2 separate regions of the Homo sapiens genome follow, and region 1 is linked to region 2. Evidence: promoter capture Hi-C in human tissues and cell types (Jung and others, 2019). All regions are on one chromosome and are shown on one strand. The core of a region is centred on a gene start or on the middle of the fragment in contact, and the rest is flanking DNA. Distances in the headings are between cores, read along the strand shown. Region 1 overlaps RYR3 (ryanodine receptor 3). Region 2 holds the start of FMN1 (formin 1).

Region 1 (5,770 bases), core at 945-3,444, 330 kb before region 2:
GACAGTCCATAAACAGGTCTGACTATATGAAAGTGTAGCATATGACAAAGCAGATTTCAGTACAACAGGAGAAAGGCGGGGTTATTAAGCACAAGTCTCTGTGAGATGCGGATGGCAAATGAGAAAAGCTTTCAGTAAGATCCACAGGAAACATAAAAAGATAAGTTACAGATGGATAACATAATTAAATATTTCATTTTAAAATTAAATTCTAAAACAACTAGCATGCAACGGAAGAGTCTACATTCTTCACAGACCTAATATTTATCCATGCTTTGATGCATCAGATATACTCAAAGGCAATAGAAGACAGATACGATTGTACCAAAATTACTGAAATTCAGAACAATGGAAACACCAACATTTAATAGACTACAGAAAGACTTTGTAACACTATGACAAAAGGGTTACTATCTCGTTGAAATGTAGGGAAAAAAACTAAGCCTCATAGAAGTCGGCAAAGAATATGAATAAATGACGCATATTAGAAGAAAATTCAAACATATGGAAGAGATTCTATCTTTTCTAGTAATGAAAGGAATGACACTTGAAGCAACTTTGATATATCATTTTACATCTGCAAAATTTGCAAAAGTGGGGAAAAAAAAGCTTAATGCTATCAGAGTTGCAATTTAGCTGATGAGATTCCAGGCAAGGTGGTACGGAATACAACCCTTTTGCAAAGCAATATGGAAGTATATGAAAAGGGCCATAAGGAAGTCCATAACCTTTTCTGTAGTGATTCTGCTTCTGGGAGCAATTCAAGACAAGCAAAGAAAAGTGTGCACCCAGCTGTGATAAGAGCATTATAATAGGCGCAACAAAACAAAAAACCTGGAAAGAACCTAACTGTCCCAAAGAAAAATATTACCTAGTAAATTATGAGGCTTCTTGAGGATGTTCTATGCTTTACCTATTAAAGAAGGCAATTACAGAGGTTATGTGGAAACACAGAAAAACATTTGTGATATGCCACCGTGGGAAAAGCAGAAAACAAAATACCTTCAAGTATTACATATAGGCAAGAATAAGGAAACCTATGAAAATGAAATAGCCATTTGGCTGGCTGCCGAACCACTGAATTTTTCCTTTTCTAAATTTTCTTTAACACTATTACTATATCAGCATTTTGGGGAAAAGGATAGTGTGTGTATGTGTGTGTAGGGGGGTAGTGCAACAACATGGTACGTGTGTTTAATGAAATCGAGCATTTTAAAAGTATTTTGCCTATTCCCTGTACCTTCAGTTGCTTGTGGGTACGATTACTTTGCCAGGATCCTCAGGAAACGACTTTACCTACCTGAAAGGCAGATGGGGACACATATCTAGCATCATTGCTTTTAAGACACTGACTCCAGAGTCTTTCTTTACCCTTGGTGTTACACGGAAACGCTAGAGAGGCAGCCTTTATTGACGATACCTGACTCCCTTCCCCATAGCTCCCTCAGGCTCAGCTCCAGACTCCAAAGTAAACATCTCCTGCTGCAGGGATTCGTTGCAGTTGGGTCCCAAACCCAGTGGCTCCTCTGACTGTCCCTCTTCACTTTAAATCCCGTTCTTGTTTTTGGGGACTTGGTGCATTCCCTGCTTCTCAAGGCTGCCTCACACAGCTGTTAGATTCTAGGTCTACCCTGCCCTACTGCTATAGGCTAGCAGATCACTCCCTTAGCTGGCCAAACTCCAAAGATCCTACTCAAGCAGACTGCTCTTCCAGGAGGGGTGGACAGATAGTGTGTCCGGAACTGGTTCCTTCTGGTGGGTTCTTGGTCTCACTGACTTCAAGAATGAAGCCGCAGACCTTGCGGTGAGTGCTACAGCTCCTGAAGGTGGGGTGTCCAGAGTTTGCTCCTTCCGGTGGGTTGGTGGTCTCGCTGACTTCAGGAATGAAGCTTCAGACCCTCGCAGTGAGTGTTACAGCTCATAAAGGTAGTGTGGACCCAAAGAGTGAGCAGCAGCAAGATTTACCGTGAAAAGCAAAAGACCAAAGCTTCCACTGCGTGGAAGGGGACACCAGCAGGTTGCCGCTGCTGGCTCGGGTGGCCAGCTTTTATTCCCTTATTTGGCCCTGCCCACATCCTGCTGATAGGTCCATTTTACAGAGTGCTGATTGGTCCATTTTACAGAGTGCTGATTGGTGTGTTTACAATCCTTTAGCTAGACACAGAGTGCTGATTGGTGCATTTACAATCCTTTAGGCAGACATAAAATTTCTCCAAGTCCCCATCCCACCCAGAAGCCCAGCTGGCTTCACCTCTCAATAGGGCTAGACAACACCTCTCCAGCTCAAATGACACCAAAGGAACTGATGGGGCATTTTCCAAACAGGCCTTGAATTGTAAACATCTGGTAACACGGATATTTTTTTCTTCTTTAATGATATTAATAGTTAATGAAGGATTTTGTGGTAGTAGACTGGGAATTAGAAAGTACAGCCCAGGGGTAGGAGGGGCACATGCACAGATGAGTATGGCCTGTGATGAGGAGTCACAGCCAGAGAATGAGGCAACAGGAGCTCGCTAAGTACAGGTAGCCATCCTAACTCCCTGAAACTGGTATGAAACCCCAAAGAGCCCAGTGTGGGACACTTAACTTGTTTCTTCACCACCTTTTTTGGATCAGATAGTTAAATCCTCAACTGGCTAATTGCCAAACCCTCCTTCTCCTGAGCTGAACAAAGATTCTCTCTACCTCCTGTGGCTCTCAACCTTGGAGTATAAAGCACTATACAGCATAAGGTATCGTTCTTTTGACACCTTGATTTTCAACTCATAATGGGGTAATTAATACGAATCTAAAGCCGAGAGTCAGAGGTGCCTGAGCCATTGACTTCAGGGAACTTTGTGAAGAGGTTTTTCCCCCCTAAGAAATCTTCCAAGTGGGCCTGGACCAACTCAGCCAGAGCAGTACAGGTCCTTCACAGAAACATGCTTGAAAGGGGGCGACACCCCTGGCATCTTTCATGGGCATCTTGAGAGAAAAGTGAAAACTGAAACTATGAAACAGAATTTTTTTTTTTTTTGAGATGGAGTCTTGCTCTGTTGCCCAGGCTGGAGTGCAGTGGTGCAATCCCAGCTCACTGCAGCCTCTGCCCCCTGGGTTCCAGCAATTCTCCTGTGTCAGCCTCCTGGGTAGCTAGGAATACAGGCTCACACCACCACACCTGGCTAGTTTTTTTTTTTTTTTTTTTTTAAGTAGAGATGGGGTTTTGCCATATTGGCCAGGCTGGTCTCGAACTCATGACCTCAGGTGATCTGCCTGCCTCGGCCTCCCAAAGTGCTGGGATTACAGGCATGAGCCACCGCATCTGGCCATCAAATAGAATCTTAATGAAGTTCAGAAAACAGGAGGAAGGCACAGCATCTGAAAGTACTACTTCCCCCAAATTCAGTGATCATGGCAGTCTTACTTGGTCAGCTAGCAGTTGCCTTACTAAAAAGACAGGACCAAATGTCAAAGGCTGCAATGCACAATAGGACAGCCCTTACCCCAGAAAAGAAAGTTGGCTGCATCTGGTGGCAGAAGGACCTATGGCAGTCACTCTGTCTGCTGCTGTGCTCTTGTAGAGTGACCTTGACTCCAGGGAGCCCCACCTTCGACACCCACAGTACTGCCTTCTTCCTGTCTCCTCATATCACAGGACAAAAGAGAAGAATACTTGAAAAGCAGTGCACAGAAAGGCACTCCTTTGATTTTTTAAATACATAAACTTTGCCACTAAGCAAGGAAAACAGAGGCAAAATCAAACAATCCATCCCCCTCCGCCCACTACTGAATGTCAAATTTACCATTCCCATGGTTTATAATTTACTGAATCCAGCTAACCCTCTCTCTTGGAAGTGCCTAGAATTATTTTTCCTGGATGAGAAGGTGGCGCAATCTCCTTTTTGTTCATGTCATTAGTTTCACTGCCACATGGAAGTATTTCAGAACAAAAGGATGAAAGGCCAGAGCCTAATTTGAGAAGGTGTAAATTCTCAGTCACAGGCATCATTTGCAGCAAGAACCTGTACCCCAGTAAAGTAGTCTCTTTCAGGAAAACACCAACTTAGATTCTGCTTTGCACAAGTTTAGCACATGGAATAGGTATAATCTGCGAGATGGCTCAGATGGGTTGGAGACTGCAAACGAGATGCTATGGTAACCTAGAGTTGATTCTTTCCTGTGGGCACCTAAAGCCGTAGGAAGATCCCCTGGATGGTGCAGACTTAAACTCCAAATGTGCAACTGAAGACAACTGGGGAACCTCCTGCCTTCCAAGACTTTAAAAATAAGAGCCTTTGCCCTATGAGAATCGATGTAGATTTCTGCAACCATTTTCCTCCCCTTTTGTCCCAATCCATAATGGTTGGGGAACAAATTAAATGACTGAGTTTCCCACTAGTCCTGATACTTTTCAAACACTGCTTCTCAAACAGACAGATGAGCATTTTCCATTGAGGGGGAAAAGGTGGTCACTGGTATGCCTCCAAATTGGGCAGGGTCATCCTGTATACATCTGTGCTTTTCTTTGAACACAGATGCCATGGAGAGAACAGTGAGCCAAAATGGCAACCCTAACACATGTTTCTTATTATGGTGTCTTTTAAAAGAGCAAATCGCCAGATATTTGTCAGCGTATTAATGACATTTAGATTGATGACAAGTATGCTTTGGAAAGAGGTGAGGCAATTTTTTTTTTCCGAATTATTCCCACCACCTTCTCCTGTAGCTAATAGATTAAGAATCTGATGTTGCCAAATTTATTCTTTGCATAAAAGGAGCCTGTCAGCCAAATTTGTTTTCTAGTCACTGCTCTGGTTTCTATTTGAACCACCCATACTCCTCCTCCTCATCAGGCTTCAGATGAAACAGTGGACCAGTGACCACAAAGGGTCAATATTAAGAGCTCTGCCCAATTATTTCCATTCACCAAATGTAGCATAATGAGTATTTCCAACAAAGAGTCTAACATTCAAAAAGTCCGATTACCTTGACGTGAAAATTTGAACACTGTTTCTAATCTACTGTTTCTCTATAAAAAAACTCACTGTTCATCCTGAGGATTTATAGATAACAAAATAGGAGTAAGTTTTTTATCATAAAACCCTGCTGACTACTACTGTGTGTAACACCTTTACCCACACAAGCTATAAAGCAGAAGGTCAACTGGATTCTATTTTGTTATCTGATCCTCCTCCCCCTTTCCTGCAGTTCTTCAACTTACATGGGGTTTTTTCCCCCTTGGATGTCCTGTAACAACCAACCTTTATTTTTTTAAATCTCTCTATCTTTTTTGTACTGGTCTCAACTATGATTTTCCTAGTTGGAGATCGATTCTTCTTGTTCTCTCTATATCCACATAATGAGCATGGGGCCAAGTTTATATTACCCAGCAAAACAAACAGCGATCTTGCCTTTTTCTTGAAGTATATGAAGTAGCCTTGGGTGGAGAGGCTGATTCTCCAGGGTCCTGTGTATGTGGGCCTGGGGATAGACAGAACGGATGCTCCTAATACTTAGCACCTGTCCACGGACCAGGGGCTGTTCTGAAGGCAATGACATCATTCTTCTGAACCTCTCATGATTTCATTCTAGAAAAGTGGCCCTCAATCCCAGCTATAGACCGGAATAACTAGTGGAGATTTAAAAATGAATACAAAAGAAGAAAAAAAAAAAACAACATAAAAGCTGGGTCATTTTCATAAGATTCCAATTTGGTGGGCCTATGGTGAGGTCTGAGCTCCCAGGTAATTCAAATGCACAGTCAGGCTTGACAGTCACCCCTCCAGGA
Region 2 (6,219 bases), core at 45-2,544:
CACCCCAGCCTGGGTGACAGAGTGAGACCGTGTGTTAAAAAAACAAATAAATAAAGGGCCTATCAGTGTTTGGCTAATATTGTGATTAAGAATAAATCAGAGTTCCAATAAACTATTATTTCTAGAAAAAAAATAGTGAAAAAAATCACCTTAAAAATACCTTCCAAATTTTTTTCCCATTTACTTATTTGAAAACAGAATCTATTCAGGACAAAATTCTATCTTCAAGTACCAAATGGGTGATACAGTTCGCATTTATCCAAAAGCAGATTAAAGACAATGCCTTTTCTTGCCTACCTACTTGGAAAAGATCTCAGTGTCACTCAAATCACATTCCAAATCTCAACGACATTAAGGCCTCAAATCCTCTTAGGAAAGGTTTGAAGGTAGTTCATTTCAGTAATGATTAGACACTTGGGGACAAAACAGTACCTTGGCATCAAGGTCTGTACTGATTCACCAGCACAGAAATAGCAGTAACAAGATCTTCAACTCTGAGGTGTTCAAATAAGCAGACAAACTCCCTCGTGAGGCCCAGGCCTCTTGACATCCGGACTCAGTCTTTCTTTCTCAGATCGCCAAGGGTCTGGCCCATTTCTCAGCCTAAACCTATTTTGCGTTTAATTCAAACCAGTCAAAGTAACTTAACCGCCAGCAGTTAAAAAGCTACTAGGAGGAAGCGTAGGCAGGAGATGGGAGAGGAAAAGGCTCCTGTCAGGGTTTGGGCTTATGTGTGGATTCTTGAATTCTCCTTCTTTGTTCCTTTTAGCACTTACGATCAAGAACGGCTAGGCTGAGGGGGCAGGGGGGCCAGGCCACTGGAGCGAAACGGCCTCTCCGGATCTGGAGGCGTGGGAACCTCGGGAATAGTGGGGAGTTCCAGACCAGTTCCCTTCCCCCATCTGAACAAGTCCAGAGCGTGCGCCTTGAGAGGCGCTCGGAAACAGGGAAGCTGGGGACACGTAGCGAGAGACTGGTTGTCGCCCTGGCTGTCCGTCTTAGACCTAGCTTAGCGACCACCGCCTTCAATCCCTCAGCCCGGATCAGACGGTGCCAAAAGACAGCACTGCTTCCCAGCCTGGCCCAACGGCTCGGCTGCTGATTGGGCACCGCCGCCTCCCGCCCCGCCTCCCCTGCCACCTCGGGCGCCGCTGCACGTTTCCACTGGTCTTCAGCCCTGCCGATCAGTTTACTGCTCACCTCCCCCAAACAGCTCGTCAGGCCGGCGCGTGCTAGGAAGGCGGGGCCTGTGGCCTGTGGGGCGGAGCCTCGGTGGAGGTCGGCGCAGCTGCCCCTTTGGGCTTTGGCTCTGGACTGGAGCGCAGCATCCTTCGAGGCTGCAGCCGCCACGGCTGTTGCCGTAAGCAATCCTCCTGCCTCAGCCTCCCGAGTAGCTGGGACTCGGGACCAGCCTCCCGAGTATTGGTCAGGTAAAGAGAGTCTTGTCTGTTCTGCTGGCCATCTGCCCGTCTCTTCTTCCCGACCAAAGGCTGCCTGCTCCGCCTTCCCCCGTGGCTTTCAGGGTTCTTGGAATGAGGCATCAAGTCTATTTACCCCGCCAGCTTATCTTCCTCCCCTTCTGTGTCGGTTCCTCCAGCTCCCCCACCAAGCTGCTCCCAAGTACGTTGGTGGGCCCTCCGGGTCATCCCAACGCTCCTCACTACAGAACTCCTGTCGTTGACTCTCAGGTCCCAGCCCCCTTGACCCGCCAGTGCAGTCTCATTCCCAGCTTGGCACAGGAAAGGTGGAGGGCGGGAGGGCGGGAGGGCGGGGGACGGAGAGATGCAGAGCTTTTTTTTTTTTTTTTTTTTTTTTTTGAAGCTGGATGTGTTTAGCGCAGAGGGGGAGCACCACAATGGGATTGCATTGGGAACAGAAGCAGCTTCATGACTATGGTTGGCAATGACTAGAAAGGTATCTGTTGCTGCTTTTTGCTTGTGTTTATAGATGACATTTACCATCACCGTTTTCTTCTTCTTTCATCATCATCATCATCACCATTGCCACTACCACCACCTCCAAGGCCACTACCACCACAGCATCTCTGTTCCTCCATCAGAGCTCTTCAAGTTCTGTAAAGGCAGATTCTCTAAAGGCATGTAAGTGCTGACGGATCCCCCAACCCCCTCCCCCACCACCAAATAACGAACAGTGCTCTTGCCCCCTGAGGCCAGAGCCAAGCCCTCATTTAACTCAAGAACAAGTAGCTGGGAGCAGAGTGTGAGCTGGGAGGATTTTCCTTATCCTCATTTGCAATTGAGATTGCCAAAGAAAACCCTTTATTTTAATCATCCACATTTCTGCTTGCTGTCTCCTGGAGAGTTCCATGTTAGCACTCACACACTCCGAATGGGCTGAATGCAGAGCCTGAACCTGTGATATATATGGGGAGTGGCAGTCACTGAGAGGTGAATGTCCAGACCCAATCCTTTAAGAAGACCAGGTGGAGTAGCAGACAACCTGACTTTCTGCTACAGTAGCTCCAGCTGTACTAAAGCATGTTTACTATTCATGTTTGCATATGGGACATGTGCCATCATCTGCTATGCCCCCTTGCGTGTGTATTGGCAGGGGGGCGGAGGGGCGCATCTAAATTCCTAGGAGAGAGAATTATATTCTGTTCTCTACACCAGGTAGCATCTTATAGGCACACCAATGGGATTCAACAGCCGTTGCTTAGCTGTTTCTAGGGCTTACTGCAAATCTCTTGGATCACAGACTTATTAACCCTTTTTTGGGAGGGAAAACAGTATAGCTGAGAATTGCATACCAGATTAACTGTCGTTGTGGAAGATGTTGCTTCCACAATGAATCAATGAGGTCTCGGGTCTTCTTGATCAGATATCTAAACACTAGTCTCCTTTCTCTCAACTGTGTTACAGTCCAGGAGCAGGACCAATGAATAGTTAGACATATTGCAGGAACAAAGAAGCAATGGCCTCAATGGAGGGAAACAATGGAGAAGAGTAGTGAGACAGTATATTGTAATGGCTAAACTCATAAACCTGTCAGACATAGGTTCAAATCCTGGACCAGCCACTGACTAGCTCAGTGATTTTTGCAAGTTGCTTGCCTCTTTAATTTTAATTTCTCGTCTGTAAAATAGGGATAATACTACCTGTCTCTTAGGAGAAGGTGTGAGGATTAAACGAGATAATATAGGTAAAATACTCAGTAGTTTCTGGCACATAAGTGGGGAATTTATAGTAACTGCTATTAATAATACTAGTCAAGAAGGATAATAAAGGCCAGTCTCGTTCCTAAAAATTATGCATTTTTTTCCATTGTCTTTATCCTTTTTAGGTGTCAGAGCTGATGCAAATGGGGTATGGTAGTCTTCAGGTTCCTTATAGCACTACATCTTAGAGGGGTGCCACTATTGAAGCCACCTGTGTTTGGACAGGCATTTCTCTCACCAGCCTTCACAAGTACTTAGCCGATTCTTAGTTGAGATACGTTAAAGATGCAGCTTTAGAGAAGATTTCCAGGCCTCTGGCCCTATTCTAGACTGCTTCTTTCTCACTGAGTGTTCAATGCATTGACTGTGATTGATGAAGCCTTTGTCACAGGCTTAACCCTGCCTAGACCAAATGCTTTGGCCAAGGGAATGGGGTCCCATAGGACCTATGATTGTCTAAGGGTAGGTCTCATATCCTGGTCATCCTCCCTTTCCAGACATAAAATTGGTGGAGCTGTTCCCAGAGGAAGAGGAATGGGGACAGACTGGAACTTGATGTGATGATGGTAAATATCCTTGATAGAAAATTGAGAAATGCTTCTCTCCTATCTCATATACCATGCCTCAAAGTCTAGTTTTACGTTAAAGTTTTGGATTCATGCACACCATCCCAAGCTGTGGTGTGCTTTAGATGATCTTGCCTTTAATGGTTTTCTTATTAAAACTTTATTCGTATCAGTGTAAAAGTTCATAATGGATATTTCATATCTTGCAGTGATGCTACTGGTTGGTAGTATGACCACGTTTAGGGGCTATTCATAATCTCTTTTTGGGACCTGGTTTTAAGAGTAGCTATTATTTTTAGATGTACATAGTCTCTGTCTTAAATATCAGCTTAATTCTCAACAGGTCCCAGCCTGTGTTGACAGAATTACAGCTGTTAATCTGATTTGCCTGATCTTGCAGAGACGCTAAACCATGGGAATTGTATTCTCCTGCAGCAAATATAAGCTTGCACCAACAGGCTGGCACTGTGAAGGAACTGAAGCATCTCTGTATTTAGTGTCTGTGCTGAAGTGCTGACAAAGCATCAACCCCATGCTCTGCAAAATAGTAATTACTAAAGCGGGGAGATGTAAAGAAGGAAACAAACCTCTTTACCTTGTCAGCGCATAAAAGCAAGGGTCTGAGAAATGGAGCATTCCCTCTCACTTATGTTTCTCAAGTTCCCTGGCTAAAAGTAAACAATCTCCCAGAGTAACCTGGATTTCTGTGCTTATCTACGCTTTCAGCAAATACTGCCTTAGTGCATGTTTGAGGATGAGGGAGAGAGAAGAGAGTTGGTCCTCCTTGTGGACATCCTTACCTCCCCACTGGCCTGAAATGACCATGATCTCTGTAATGCATCTCTCTAGGAAGCAGACTACTAGTTAAGTTTTTTTTTCTTTAACCAACACACCTCCTATTTCCTTAACTTGATACTGACTTGTTTTATGTTCCATCTTATTCGAACTATGCCTATCTCTTCCTTCTAAAGTGTCATAGGTCACTGCTAATGATGAACACCTTTCAAATGAAACGCTTTTTTACTGTGGTCTTCCACGTGACAGGCTATTGGGCAAAATATTTTGGAGGTAGCCAGGACTTTTTTTTTTTTTTTGAGATGGAGTCTCGCTCTGTTGCCCAGGCTGGAGTGCAGTGGCACGGTCTCAACACACTGCAAGCTCCGCCTCCCGGGTTCACGCCATTCTCCTGCTTCAGCCTCCTGAATAGCTGGGTCTACAGGTGCCCACCACCACGCCTGGCTAATTTTTTGTATTTTTAGTAGAGATGGGGTTTCACCGTGTTAGCCAGGATGGTCTTGATCTCCTGACCTTGTGATCTGCCTGCCTCGGCCTTCCAAAGTGCTGGGATTACAGGCGTGAGTTACCACGTCCGGCCAGCCAGGACTTTTTAACGTTCATGTTTGTCATCAGGATCTGGGCATTAATGGAGAAGTAGCAGGGACCGCCAGAATGCTGACTGGGAGGATAGACAAGGCTGTAAAAGTGGGGCAGGAGACACCTTTATGATGCTGCTGCCAGGATACTAGTACTCACACCCCTGCCACAGGCCTTCCAGTATGAGTGCTCTAGTTCATGTTTTTGTTAAAGAAGCTCAGAGAACATGATACGATCTGAAGACTAGTAGTCTAGAAATGCGTCAGACAGCAGTGCTTGTTGTTAAACACTCCTTTAGCCATAGTTGCCCTGTTTTTCCATTTTTCCCCCACGTGAGTATCTATCCACATTCATCTAGGCCTAGGTGCTTTCTCCAATGATGTCCTCCGTGAAACATAAGGAAAAATATGGACCTCTCAAAGAGAAAGAGAACTGTCTACTTATTAGGAGAAGCCCTCCCTGGTGATTCACTCACCATAGTAATTTTGGGAAACCTCATGGTTTCCAAAACCTTAATATTTGCACAAATGAAATTCAAATGAAATTGAATGAATGCCATCTTTTGAGCAGCACACAGGTGACTGTAGCACTGTCTCATGTTCTCTAAAATCTCTTCTTTAGAGTTTCAAGAACTCTTTTCAGTCTCTTCTCAGTAGAGAAGATAATACTTCTAAGTATTAAAGAGCAGGTTTTTTGCTCTTTGCTATTGTAAGGATTGCTGAGCCAGAATGGAGAAAGTATTTGGGAAGAATTGCTGCCACAGTGTTTAATGGTCTTCCTCCTCTGTGAGAATTACAACTGAGCAAACATTGTTATGTTTAAATGTGTTCAGTCCCCAAGAGGCAGTGAGTAAAATCTTTGTTACCATTTTCAAAGTGTGCATTGCTGCTTTGATCTCTTCACTGACCGAAAGCACATCCCTATGGTCTCAGCCCTGTGCGTCCTAATAAAGCTGATTTCTCACCGTTACACCAGGGAGTCCATGTAGTTTGTTGATGCTCTATTCTGAGAAAAATGTCCTCAAAGTCTATTCCAAGGGCAAGACTCAAGTGAGCATGAGTTGTATGTTTTCTCTGTGTCCATCCTTGGCTTAATACAGAA

What was found. Contacts are between HindIII fragments. The study calls those that stand out against the background at their distance.
Region 1: a contact is called between a fragment that was not itself captured here and the fragment with the promoter of FMN1 in region 2, in 2 of the 25 tissues and cell types used here (IMR-90 fibroblasts and aorta).

Annotation. Positions count from the first base shown.
Region 1 is chr15:33,519,512-33,525,281 of GRCh38, reverse strand. The region is part of intron 3 of RYR3 (ryanodine receptor 3); the gene reads right to left. Among named protein-coding and RNA genes, the nearest start is that of RYR3, 210 kb to the right of the region's middle. The HindIII fragment of the contact is 3,649 bases long and covers 370-4,018 here.
Region 2 is chr15:33,189,789-33,196,007 of GRCh38, reverse strand. FMN1 (formin 1) reads left to right here and starts at 1,294. Exons shown (of 21, transcript NM_001277313.2): 1 at 1,294-1,430; 2 at 1,948-2,099. LOC105370759 (a long non-coding RNA gene) reads right to left here and starts at 1,097. Exons shown (of 3, transcript XR_932090.3): 1 at 433-1,097. RefSeq lists silencers at 992-1,201, 976-1,315. The HindIII fragment of the contact is 9,448 bases long and covers 1-6,219 here.